Linked DNA regions of Homo sapiens: all the other regions are linked to region 1. Evidence: promoter capture Hi-C in human tissues and cell types (Jung and others, 2019). All regions are on one chromosome and are shown on one strand. Each heading gives the region's core, a stretch centred on a gene start or on the middle of the fragment in contact. The rest is flanking DNA. Distances are from core to core; before and after follow the strand shown. Region 1 holds the start of DPM1 (dolichyl-phosphate mannosyltransferase subunit 1, catalytic). Region 2 overlaps NFATC2 (nuclear factor of activated T cells 2). Region 3 overlaps NFATC2 (nuclear factor of activated T cells 2).

Region 1 (4,357 bases), core at 1-2,500:
TTCATAGTCCAGCAGATCAGTCACAGTGGGCCGTTCCCCGCAAGCTGCACAGTCGAGCCTGCGGCTCCGCAGCCGAATAGAGCGGAAATGCCCTCTCAGGGCATCAAAGAGCAACAAGCTGCCACTGTAAGAGGGGCCCAGACCCGCAGCGATTTTCAGCACTTCCAAGGCCTGCAGGCAGCCCAGGACCCCGGTAACGACACCGAGCACCCCGCCGTCCGCGCAGTTGGTCACTGTCTCCGCTGGGGGTGGTTGGGGGAATATGCAGCGATAGCAAGGGCCACCGTCATAATGGTAGACTGTGATTTGGCCCTCGAAGCGCAAGGCACTGGCAGACACGAGGGGCCGACCCGCCAGCACACATGCGTCATTAACCAGGTAGCGAGTGGGCACGTTGTCCGAGCAGTCAGCCACCACATCATATCGGCGGACCAGGTCTAGGGCAGTGGCTGGCGTAAGGGCCTGAGTGTACGGCACGCATTCCACTGCCGAATTGAGGCGGCGCAGCGAGGCGGCGGCCGAAAAGGCCTTGGCCTGGCCAGCCAGTGCCTCGCCATGCAGCACTTGGCGGGCCAGGTTGCTCATCTCTACCACGTCATAGTCCACAAGGCCAAGGCGGCCCACGCCGGCCGCTGCCAAGTACTGCGCTAGTGGACAGCCGAGCCCACCGCAGCCCACGATTAGCACGCACGCGGTCCCCAGGCGCAGCTGTCCGTGCACGCCCAGCTCGGGCAGCACTAGCTGCCGGCTATAGCGCAGAATCTCATCTCGGGACAGAGCGGCCTTCGGCGGCAGCGGCGACACCGGAACCAGCCGTTCTGGCTGCGGTTCCTGCTCAGCCAAAAGAGCCGACGCCAGCTTCTGCTTCAGCGAATTCAATTCCTCCTCACGTTGGGCAACTTCAGCTTGTAAGGCGAGTACCTCCTCCCGGGAAGCCATGGCGACCTCTTCCGGAAGTTGTCGTGAAAGGCATTTCCGCTTCCGTCTTCTGTCTCCTAGCGACTGGGATAAACTAAAAAACTTTATGGAGCTTGGGAAAAGGTGATGAATAGATATTTACTTCCTGAAGAAACCTTCAGATTAAACTTCAAAGATGTATAAATCCAGAATATTTCTAATTGAACCACGCAATGGCCCTAGAAGAACTAGCGATCAATCACACAGGTCATCCCCCGCTTCCGAATTTGGTACGGTCCGACCCGTCCTTTTCCGCGCCACATTACGTAATTCCGCTTCCGGCATCTGGCTCAGTTCCGCCATGGCCTCCTTGGAAGTCAGTCGTAGTCCTCGCAGGTCTCGGCGGGAGCTGGAAGTGCGCAGTCCACGACAGAACAAATATTCGGTGCTTTTACCTACCTACAACGAGCGCGAGAACCTGCCGCTCATCGTGTGGCTGCTGGTGAAAAGCTTCTCCGAGAGGTAGCGCACCAGGTCTCCCTCCCCGAAGAATGAGATGAGCTGGCTTCCCCGGCCCGGGTGTCGGCAGCTGGCTGCGCGAAGCGGCCCTGTCCAGCCTTCTTTGCCTCACACAGGAAGGCCCGGGGAGAGGGCCACCCTGCGAGGGAAGCAGAGGCGGATGCTTGTTGGGTTTTCTTCGTGTCCTGGGTTCTCATTCCTGCCCTTGGGTTTTGTGAGACTCTCATTTATCTTTATTATGTAGTACTCCCGTCCCCCGCCTTTCCGTAGAAAGGTTGGCCACTCTTTTACTTGGAAGCGAGGCTGAAAGCGTGATCCCACTCCTCCCTCTAGGCGGTCAGGATCTGCGGCAAGAGCCGGGAGTCCAAGCGAGAGCTCTCACTCTCCGCTCCGGTGCCGAGTGCTTACATAAGCATGAGGTTTGGTGTGTGTGGGTTAGGGAGCTATTGCTGGGCACGATAACCTTTCTGGAAAGGAGAAAGCAGAAGAGCATCTTCGCTGATCACTGGTGGATGTTTGGTGTGATTGTTAGAACCGGGATGGGGGGTGGGTGGAGTTCGAATTTGGAAGTGTTAATGCAGTGTTTTTAAAAACTGCAAAAAATCCTGGAGTCAGTACGAAGTAACTTGTTTTACGATTGCACAAATGGGATCATGCTGTGAAATCTTTGAAGACTTTTTCTCATATTAACATGTACAAACATAGCAAATTACTTTGGAAGTTAGGTAACATTCCATATGGCTGTGTTATTTATTTAATCAGGTCATGGCAATGAACTGGATTATTTCCAGCGCCTTTTGGTTGTTTCTGTTTTTTGGCTTTTGCTTTGTCGATGAGAACAAGGACTTTGTTCACACCATATTTTCCAGCTAAATTTAGAAAAGTGCTTGACACATAGCGGTGCTCCTTTATTGCATCAGTGTTGGCAGCAGACGCGTTCATACTTTTACTTGTGTACTAGGGATAAATTCTTCGAGGTAGGATTGCTGGGTCGACAGAAATGTGCTTAAAATGGACAGTTACTGCCAAATTGCTCTAAAGAAAAAAAAGGTTGTACAAGTTTGGACTCTCCATTCTTCAGAGTGCCTGTTTCCCTATCAACCAGCCCGCCTGAGCATTAGACTTAACATTGTTGGAAGTACTCATTTGTGAAAACCATTGCTGTTTTGATTGTATTTCCTTGAATAACTGCCTTCATATGCCTTGCCCCTCAGAGTTTTAAAATTTTTATTTTTCCTGTTTAATCTTTTAATTTTGATTTCTATAAGCTCTAAATTAAAGAAAGTAACTATCATACAACCGATCTCGTTCAGGGCTTGTATTCTAATTTTGCAATTTTTTTTTTTGCTGTTTTAATTTTTTTATGTAGTACAATTTATGTTTCCTTTTAATGGTTTGTGAATCAATCTTTTAAGATCAAAATGAAGTTTGATAAAGGAAACAAAACTTTTCAGATGCAATCAAATTACTTGAAGTCAGCCCAGCTTGGTACCTTTGAGCTGCCTCACCCTCAGGTGGTGTAGCTGCTTTGAAGTGGTAGGGGACAGTAATTTGCTTTTAACGACCCCATTTTGTTTATGGAATTTCTCTTTCAGCACGTCTATTAAAATCACCTTACATATTTTGGCATGTAAAGGCACCAGTGCCCAGATTTAAGGCACAGTGGGAAGCCAAAGTCATTGTTCTACTCTTGGAGAATAGATAACACAGGGGTTTGCTTTCTTGTCTTCAAAGTTTGCTGGGGCTGACTTGTTAAAGCCTTTAACAGTGGAATATGTTTTCTGGTTGATTTTCTTGTATTTGTTTCTTTTTTCTTTTTCTTTTTTTTTTTTTTCTTTTGGAGACGGAGTCTTGCTCTGTTGCCCAGGCTGGAGTGCGGTGGCGCCATCTTGGCTCACTGCAGGCCCCGCCTCCCGGGTTCTTTTTAGTAGAGACGGGGTTTCACTGTGTTAGCCAGGATGGTCTCGATATCCTGACCTCGTGATCCGCCTGCCTCGGCCTCCCAAAGTGCTGGGATTACAGGTGTGAGCCACCGCGCCCAGCCTCTTGTATTTGTTTCTTAAAGCAGGACCAAGAGAAAACGGAATGTTATGTCGTAGGTATTATTTATCCACCAAGTATTGTGTTGGTTTGTTTTTAGACTAGAAACTACCACCTGAGATTAATGGGAAGTAACAGATGTTAATTCTGAAGCACAGTGGAATCTTTTGTAATGCTACTCTGCTTTTGTTTTTTTAATTTGATAATGTGAGGTAATAGGCACAACTATTTGAAATTGTGGTTTAAGATAATGTCACCATTCTAAAATCGGTTTTTTTAAAGATGAAATTAAATCAGATTTATACTTGATTATTCTATTTGGATCAGATTAACAAGAATAATCACTGAGTTACTCAGTTTGGTTTGAGTTACCATGTAAAGTACTTTTGAAATATTTTATGTAACTAAGATTTGCTATTAAGGTTCAGAATATTATTTCCAAATAGGTAATAAAATTTCATATGGCTGGGCACGGAGGCTCATGCCTGTAATCCCAGCATTTTGGGAGGCTGAGGCGGGCAGATCACGAGGTCAGGAGATTGAGACCAGGCTGGCTAACACGGTGAAACCCCGTCTCTACTAAAAATACAAAAAATTAGCCGGGCGTGGTGGTGGGCGCCTGTAGTCCCAGCTACTCCGGAGGCTGAGGCAGGAGAATTGCTTGAGGCCAGGAGGCAGAGGTAAGCCGAGACTGCGCCACTGCATTCCAGCCTGGCAACAGAGCAAGACTCCATCTCAAAACAAAAAAAATTCATATGATACATAGGTCATTACGTGATTTTCTTTTGAACTAAAAAGTTTGTTCTCTGTGTAGGAATTCTTTAATATCTCAGGACATTAGCATGTTTCAGCAACATACTGGGTTTGGAGGTAAAGTACTAAATGTTTGACATTTATTTCA
Region 2 (4,357 bases), core at 1,174-3,673, 460 kb before region 1:
TTTGAGACCGGGAGGAAGAGAGTGAGGGGAAGGAATTCCAGGCAGAGGGAAGAGCAAGCACGTAGGGCAGAGCTGGGAGGAAACGTGGTTTGTGTGGAGGACAGAGAGAGGTCTGGTGTGGTTGAGAGTAATGACGGCGGCGTCATGGAAAGGGAGCATGGAGGGGACAGGCCTCGCGGGTTGAGAGCTATGGATTTTATTTTGGGAGGAAGGGGAAGCTACTGGCAGGTGGAAGGTTGAAGTTTTGGAGGGAGTGTGTTTGCCAGACTGACAAGTACAGGAAATATTGTAACAATGCTAATGATCCCTCCCCCTTACTGGGCGCCGTGGAAGGCAGGGATGGTCATCTCTGCATCTTAGATGTGAAAGCAGGCTGAGAAAAGGGAGGGATTTGTCTGAGGTTACAAAGCCAGAGGCACAGGCAATGGGTGGTTAGAGGCACGTGTGTGAGAAGTGATTCTGAGTCCACGTATAAAGAGAATAGGGCATTTATCCTGGGCTGCTCCCCCTGCCTTTTCACTCCTTCATCTGATGAGACTCCAGGAAACTGGCTTTTGCCCCAGACCCACTGATCTGACCTCCTCCTGGGCCCTCCATGTGGATTCCCTGCAGGAACCTCACATTCAACCAGCGCTAAAGTGAATTCTTGCTACTGCCCCTACTGTCCCTCTGGCCCCCATGCTCAGCTCCCATCTGTTGCCTAAGGAACTTGGGGGTGTGGCCTTAGGTGAGTTACTGAATGTCTGTGACCTCAATTTCCCCATCTGCAAAATGGGGATATTAGCAGTGCTTGAGGTTTAAAGGAAATGATGTATGAGAAGTGAGTATAACCAGGTCAGCCACACAGCACTCCATAGAGAGCAGCTATCAGCTTCATCATCTTCTTAGCCTCATCTTTATCTGTCCAGGGCTGCAGAAATGTCTTCATCTCTGCACTTGGGATGTGCCAACCCTCCTTTAATATCTTCTCACCAGTTTTTGGCCCCCACGTAGCCTCTCCCAGATTTGAACGGGCCCTTTATTCCAGACAGATGTGAAACCCCTTCATCATGGCTTCCTGTTTGAGGGAGCAGCCCCTTCAGCCAGACAGAGTGAGAAGCCAGGAGCTGGCACCCTGGGAATCCCAGGTGGGTGCTGTGCCCTACCCAGGCAGAGCCGGCAGGTCCTCTGAGTCCTGAGGGTCCTGGTCTGGTTCCTCTGTTTTCTCTCTGGACCATTTCAGAACCAATTCCCTCAGCTATCTCTGGGATTTTTTTATTTTGAGACAGAGTCTCACTCTCTCTCTCTCAGACTGGAGTGCAGCGGTGTGATCTCGGTTCGCTGCAACCTCTGCCTTCAGGGTTCAAGTGATTCTCCTGCCTCAGTCTCCAGAGTAGCTGGGATTACAGGAGTGTGCCACCATGTCCGGATAATTTTTGTATTTTTAGTAGAGACGGGGTCTCGCTTTGTTGGCCAGGCTGGTCTTGAACTCCTGACATCAAGTGATCCACCCACCTCGGCCTCCCAAAGTGCTGGGATTACAGGCACGAGTCACCACACCTGGCAGCTATCTCTGGGATTTTTAAACTCCTACTGTTTTCTTTTTCCCTGGACTTCCTATTATCTGAACATCATTATCTGTATTTGGTGCAGGATTGTTCCAGACCAGGGTCAGTTTTTCCTCCTGTGAGACTGACAACATTGGCAAGAAAGAAAGGGAAAGGAGGAGGAGGAATGGAAGGAAGGGAGGCTGATAAAGTGCGGTATTGGTGAGAGGGTGTGAAACATGTCCTCTCAGTCATTATTGGTGGGCATCTGCATGGGTAGAACCTCTTTTGAAGGGCAATTTGGTGAAATGAACCCAAATTTAGAATGCACACATCTTTTAATCCAGAATATCCCACTTCTAGAAATGTATCTTTAGAGGTGTGCTGGCCCAGCTGTGAGCCAGGCTGGCTGTTGATTCCATGTCACTGGTCCCCAGCCCTGCACAGTGTTCTCTGGCATGAAGCTTGGTGACTTCAGGAGCTCTTGGTTTTCCTGGATCCCCAGAGACAGGTGGTGGCCAACTACTCAGGGACCACAATAAGCCTCATCTGTCTTCAGGAAGCCGGGTCCATCCAGATACCTGCTGCGTGTGGTGTGTGGGATGTTGACTCCAGCCTTGTCTATAGTAGCAGGAGACTAGAAACAGGCTAAATGTCTGTTAATAAGATGCAGACACACAAGGAAATACTGAGCAAGAGTAGAAGGGAGACTTTCTCCTGATTGTGTTTTTAGAATTTTTTTTTTTTTTTTTTGATACAGGGTCTTACTCTGTCACTCAGGCTGGAGTGCCATGGTAGGATCATGGCTCACTGCAGCCTCAAACTCCCAGGCCCAAGTGATCCTCCCACCTCAGCTCCCCAAGTAGCTGGGATTACCAGCATGTGCCACCACACCTGGCTAGTTATTTTTTGTAGAGATGGGGTCTCACTATGTTGCCCAGGCTGGTCTCAAAACTCCTGAGCTCAAGGAATCCACCAACTTTGGCCTCCCAAAGTGCTGGGATTACAGGCATTAGCAACCATGCCCAGCCCCTAGGAGAGAATTTTTAAAAAGAAAGGGGCAGATTTCAGGTCCTAGAAATGACCCCAGAGGCTGGAGTGAAAATGAGGATTTAGAAACAGAAACCTTTCTGTTCTGGTTGGGGCTGTGTTTCCGGCTGTGTGTATGCATGATCAGCCTCGCCCACCCCTCAGCTGTGAGGGGAGGATGACTGCGGCTGTGCGGAGGCTTTCTTGCCTCCAAACCTTTGCCCATGCCTTAACCACCGCCTGGAAATCCTGCTCTCCTGTGACTTTTTTTTTTTCTTTTTTTAACAGAGTCTTGTTTTGTTGCCCAGGCTGGAGTGCAGTGGCACAATCTCTGCTCACTGCAACCTCTGCCTCCTGGGTTCAGTTGATTCTCCTGCCTCAGCCTCCCAAGTAGCTGGGATTATAGGTGTGTGCCACCACACCTGGCTAATTTTTGTATTTTTAGTAGAGATGGAGTTTTGCCATGTTGGCCAGGCTGGTCTCGAACTCCTGACCTCAGGTGATCCGCCCACCTCGGCCTCCCAAAGTGCTGGGATTACAGGCGTGAGCCACCATGCCTGGCTCTCTGCTGTGACTTTTGAAATCTGGCCAGCGTTCCAAGGCTCTGACAATGTCTCTGCTCTGCACCTGGAGGGTTTCTCTCTTGCCTTGAAGTCCTGGAAATGAACATGGTCTCTTTCAGGTGTTTCCATTTATTTATTTATTTATTTTTTCTCCCTTGCTCGAGTCTCTGGGTAGTGAGGACAAATGCTGTGACTTGTCTGCACTGCTGACTGCCCCTGGGCTGGCTTTGCACATGGGAAGCCCTTGACAACATTTGCTGACGTCCACCCTTTGCTCAAAGACCTGGCTCAGCTTCCTGCATAAAAGGTGCTCACCCAATATTTGTGGTATCGAATGAATAACCAGGCATGAAACTGAGAACCGAGACTGCCTGGGTTTAAAATGATTTAAAACTATTTGTCACAAAAGAACAATAATGATAATAGCAGCTCATGCTTAGATGTTTACTGTTTACCAGACATTCTTCTAAGACTTTGCTGCATTAGCTCATTTAACCCTCATGGCAGCCGCAGAGGCATTTTATAGATGAGGAAACTGTAGCCCAGGGAGGTTAAGTAACTGGTCCAAGGTCCCACAGCAAGTGAGTACATTTGTACATGTTCTTTAGTTTTGTTTTTAATTTTAAAATTTTTATTTAATATTTTTGGAGGGGACAGGGTCTTGCTCTGTCACCGAGGCTGGAGTGCACTGGTGCCACCATGGCTCACTGCAGCCTTGAACTCCTAGGCTCAAGCAATCCTCCCACCTCAGCCTCCTGGGTAGCTGGACTATAGGCGTGTGCCACCACTCCTGGCTGTTTTTTCTTAATTTTGTAAAGACAGGGTTTCACTATGTTGCCCGGGCTGGTCTTGAACTCCTGGCCTGAAGCAGTCCTCCCAGCTCAGCCTCCCAAAGTGCTAGGATTACAGTATGAGCTGCCACACCCCGCCTCTTTAGGTTTTTTTGAAAAAAGATGCCATATGTTTCTTTGGGAGTTCAGGAGTGCAAATAAAAACCTCTAGCATCTGCTAACAAGATTTGCCAGTGAATAAACCCTGAGGAGACAGACTGTGTCCTGGTCCTAGAATCAGGCTGTTATCTCTTCTCAGCAGGATGGCTTTGGAACCCAGGGCCCTCTTAGTGCCATGCAGTCCAGCCTCAGAGGGCACAGTGGATTGACAGAGGCAGATGCTTGGGGGACTCCACAGGCCAGGCCGGGGCATGACCTCAAAAATGTGCTGGCCACTGGGCCGGTGAGA
Region 3 (4,357 bases), core at 1,336-3,835, 430 kb before region 1:
CTCTTGGTTCCCTGCTAGGAACTCCACACATACTTCTGGGGAGAGGGGTGACCAAACTTTCCTGAGCTGGCACATGATCCTTCAACTGGTTGTGCTGAAATGGAAACTATGTTTATGTTGATGGCTAGTCAGTCTTTGGGGGGCCCTCACTTGCTCTCTTTGTAAGGGTTCCTCTTTTGAGAACCGTAAGTTTTATGGATCAAGAAAGAACCATGTTTTATCAGACTTAATCATGTAATAGGCATTTTCTAGATGTGGAAATAGTGGAAGTAGTTTGGTACACAATAGCCTCAAGCATGACATCAAATGCAGAAGAGGAGAAAGTTACTTCAAACATGCCCTATGGCTCAAATCCATTTTTCCCACAAAGATTTCCATTTCTGCCACAAAGATTTGAAAAAGTTACCATTTGAGCAATTTTCACTAACAGATCTTTAGCAAAAAATATTGCCTGAAGAAAATATGATATAGGAAAGCATTCCTTATATTAAAAATTGTCAAATATACAAGCACAAGGAACAACAACAAAAAAAGTATTTAAAAAAAATAGAGATGGGCAGAATGGTTCATGCCTGTAATCCCAACACTTTGGGAGGCTCAGGTGGGAGGATCGCCTGAGCTCAGGAGTTTGAGACCAGCCTGGGCAACAGAGTGAGACCCTGTCCCTACTAAAAATTTAAAAATGTAGTCAGGTGTGGTGGCGTGCACCTGTATGTAGTCCCAGCTACTCGGGAGGCTGAGGCTGCAAGGAGCCATGATCATGCCATTGCACTCCAGCCTGGGTGACAGAGCAAGACCTTGTCTCAAAAATCAATAGCCCAATAGAGGTTCTAGAAAGTGAACCTGATGCATGTTTTCGGTGCCCTCTCACTTGCCCCATTCTCTCTCCCCCCCCCTCCTCTTTTCTTTTGTAGTTAATGAAATTATCAGGAAGGAGTTTTCAGGACCTCCTGCCAGAAATCAGACGTAAAAGAAGCCATTATAGCAAGACACCTTCTGTATCTGACCCCTCGGAGCCCTCCACAGCCCCTCACCTTCTGTCTCCTTTCATGTTCATCTCCCAGCCCGGAGTCCACACGCGGATCAATGTATGGGCACTAAGCGGACTCTCACTTAAGGAGCTCGCCACCTCCCTCTAAACACCAGAGAGAACTCTTCTTTTCGGTTTATGTTTTAAATCCCAGAGAGCATCCTGGTTGATCTTAATGGTGTTCCGTCCAAATAGTAAGCACCTGCTGACCAAAAGCACATTCTACATGAGACAGGACACTGGAACTCTCCTGAGAACAGAGTGACTGGAGCTTGGGGGGATGGACGGGGGACAGAAGATGTGGGCACTGTGATTAAACCCCAGCCCTTGCGTTCGTTTTTCCAGGTCACAGATACAGCTCCTGTACCTTTTGAAGGCAAGGAGTTCTCAGAGCAACCAAAGGAACGTGACCCAAGAGCCCAGCTTACAGGCTGAAGAAACCCAAAACCCTCGATAGAGACAGAAACTGAACTGTCAGTCCTTAGAGCTCGCCCAGTCCATGCCACAACTGGGCCACAGCTAAAGCTTTATTTTTGAATTCTCATTCCAAAACCAAACTGTCTTGCCCAGACAAGATCACCTGTTAAGACTTCTTGGCGTTAAGTTATGACATGTATACGCGTTTGTTATTATTATTTTTTCTGCTTTAAAAGGCTGACCAGGGCACCTAGCCCTGGAGCTGTCTTGGCGAGCTGTTCTTTAACCCCTGCAGCACGCAGTCCTGCTAACACAATTTCCATAGACTTGGGGGGCTGACCCAGGCTGCAGAGAGCAAGCACCTGTCTGCTGCAGCTGTACAACCTGGATGCTTTGCAAGGTTCCGGCTTGCTTTCTTCCTAGCAGCCAGAGTGCTTTTCCGTAAAGCGGTGGAGAATCTCAAGCATGTGCATTTAATTGAGGAATAGCAGAAGGGCTAAAGCAACCAAGAAAAGAAGTGTGGGTATTTTTGTTAAGTAAAACAGCCCAAGTGCTTCTGGAGGTGGGTTTCTACCAAGATAGAGGAAAAGGGCTGAATTCCCTCTAAGTGGGACAGCCGAGCTCAGGATGTGCTTCCCAGCTTCACTGGTTAATTTGACCTGAACCTATTTAAAGATCCCTTCTGCCCCTGAAGACCTATCCGCACTCAAATTCTAACATGAAGAAATCTACTCGAATGCATCCTTTACTTTGAATGAGCTCTATTCGGTTGCATGTTATATGTGATTTCCTTCCTCCCAACTGTTTCCACTGAGCGCACCCAGTCTCCCCTAGTCTTCCTCTGTGGGTGTGATTTTTGTGATTTTTACAAACAAAACCCTTGAAGTTCTTGGCAGATGTGTTTGTTTCTGTTTGCATGTACTGCAGATACCCCAGGACAAGCGGGGGATTCATTTTTCAGCCATTCAGTTGTTTCCTCAATAATCCGCAGCAAAGTGAAAATATTCTTAGCACTCAGACTGTACTTAGAGTGTTTTCTCAGTCCAGTCTGTACAGTCTGTAGGCAGAAGGCCTCAGAAGAAAGTCATGGCCACTCAGTGCCCACTGTGGGCTTTGTAAGTCCTGGCTCTCCCGTCAAGGTTACCCAGAGGTAAAAGCTTCCTGGGAGTGGGGCCAGGTGTGTTTGGCACTCCAGATAGAAGGCAAAATGCTCAGATTCGGGCCTGTGCACTTGTATGCAACCTGTCGGTCGATACCTAGCATTTATTTTTCCCTGACAATGAACGACCTTTCCCTCACCCACCCTAAGCTCAAAGAGTTTAGCAAAATTCTCTTTTAAATAAACAGAATGCCAGTAAGAGGTTGACCCCTACCATGGAACTTCTGGGATGCTAAATACTTCCTCATGAACAAAATAAGTTCCTTATTATAAGTTCCTTATACTAGCAGCTTCACCTAAAGAATTTTCTCTCCAGCAATATTGACTTCACTGGGGAAAAGCCAAGAGTGTGTGGTGAGTGATTTGTTCTCACTCGACCTGGCTAGGACTGGCTAGGAGCTGTTTTTTGTACATGAGGGAATTTGGGCTTTCCTCAGTTATCTGAATGTTTTACCCAAGTGCCTTCCTGCTATTGTAGCAAAGTAGCTCAGCTTCCTTGTCCACAGGGTGAAAAAGGACTAATGCATTTTCCATCAGTTTTCTAACTATGTTAGCAAAAACGGCCTCCTGGTAGCTCAACCTCCTGTACGCGTGTGTGTGTGTAATACACACACAAATAAACCCCTCTGTTTTTCTAAGACATCTTAGCTGGATATTATAGGAAGCACTTTCATAAACAACTGTAACAAATCGCAAAGGAAAGAGAAACAAAAGCATTAGATTTGAGACATAAACAGGCAAGAGAAAGTGTATTAGGAACTGACAGCTATCAAGGAAGTTTTGTCAGTTACAAATGCTAGGAGGAAATTTTGCCAAGAAGGATGGCTCATGAAATATTTCCAGTACGGGAAGAGGCAATAAGATCCTCTAAGAGAATGAGAAAGTAGGGGTGTCTAAATGGTAAAGATGGGTGTGTTGCACGTGTGTTAGAAGGATCTCAGTTGAGTGAAGGTTTGCACTGCTACATCTAAGTTAATGTAAATATGTAGCACTCTGACAGGTCTACCGTGTTGCTGAATGTAGTATATTTCCAAAGTTTGCAAGTCTTCCTGTATTGTACAAAGATGCTGCTGCTTGATAATATGTATAGCAATCCAGATTAGTATGTTATTAAATTTTATTTTCTTACCTGTATTTTTATGCTTTTTACCTGTCCTCAAAATATTACACCCCTGTTGGAATTAGATTTATATTTATAAATGGTCAGAAATCTTTTTAAGTGTCTCTTTTTACACATAGGTTGATTTTTTTTTCTTAAGAGAAATGATGTATTCTTGAAACATTTGTTACTCATTCCAGGAAACAAAAACCCATATAATAAAACCCCCACTCAGAGCCTGTTAGTCACCTCTCTAGAAGATGGCATCTCAGGAGAAGGAATGGCTTTGTGGAAGAAGGAATCACCTTTTTCTTGCTCAAGAATTATGCTGACTTCAGCCCTGAGCCTGGATCTGGTCACTGAGAATCATCAAGTGTCTAGATCCTCCCCCCAAAATAACTAATTTAGTAGGTGATTTTGATTTTAAAAAATTGACACCAAAACCCTGCCTGCATTGTAATGGAATTCGAAAAGAATTCATGTTCACAGAACTCAACGTTCAGGCTAATATTTACAGAAGGGACCAAATCTAAATCCTGGTAGATAACTCCTGTATGCTTTATCCAAAGGACACCCACAGTTTTCCAGCATAGATATAACCAAGGATGAATTGATTCCTTCAAAGAACTGGGAGGCACGGATATTGCATTTT

What was found. Contacts are between HindIII fragments. The study calls those that stand out against the background at their distance.
Region 2: a contact is called between a fragment that was not itself captured here and the fragment with the promoter of DPM1 in region 1, in 1 of the 25 tissues and cell types used here (heart left ventricle).
Region 3: a contact is called between a fragment that was not itself captured here and the fragment with the promoter of DPM1 in region 1, in 2 of the 25 tissues and cell types used here (lymphoblastoid cells and mesendoderm cells).

What each region holds. Positions count from the first base shown.
Region 1 is chr20:50,955,425-50,959,781 of GRCh38, reverse strand. DPM1 (dolichyl-phosphate mannosyltransferase subunit 1, catalytic) reads left to right here and starts at 1,250. Exons shown (of 9, transcript NM_003859.3): 1 at 1,250-1,419. The coding sequence starts at 1,259. It overlaps MOCS3 (molybdenum cofactor synthesis 3), which reads right to left and starts at 964. Exons shown (of 1, transcript NM_014484.5): 1 at 1-964. The coding sequence starts at 939. RefSeq lists enhancers at 181-791, 1,004-1,493. The HindIII fragment of the contact is 10,279 bases long and covers 1-4,357 here.
Region 2 is chr20:51,413,168-51,417,524 of GRCh38, reverse strand. All of the region lies in intron 9 of NFATC2 (nuclear factor of activated T cells 2), which reads left to right. Among named protein-coding and RNA genes, the nearest start is that of MIR3194, 38 kb to the left of the region's middle. The HindIII fragment of the contact is 3,363 bases long and covers 742-4,104 here.
Region 3 is chr20:51,388,009-51,392,365 of GRCh38, reverse strand. NFATC2 (nuclear factor of activated T cells 2) reads left to right here. Exons shown (of 11, transcript NM_012340.5): 11 at 915-4,357. The region is part of intron 2 of LOC105372663 (a long non-coding RNA gene); the gene reads right to left. Among named protein-coding and RNA genes, the nearest start is that of MIR3194, 63 kb to the left of the region's middle. The HindIII fragment of the contact is 4,969 bases long and covers 101-4,357 here.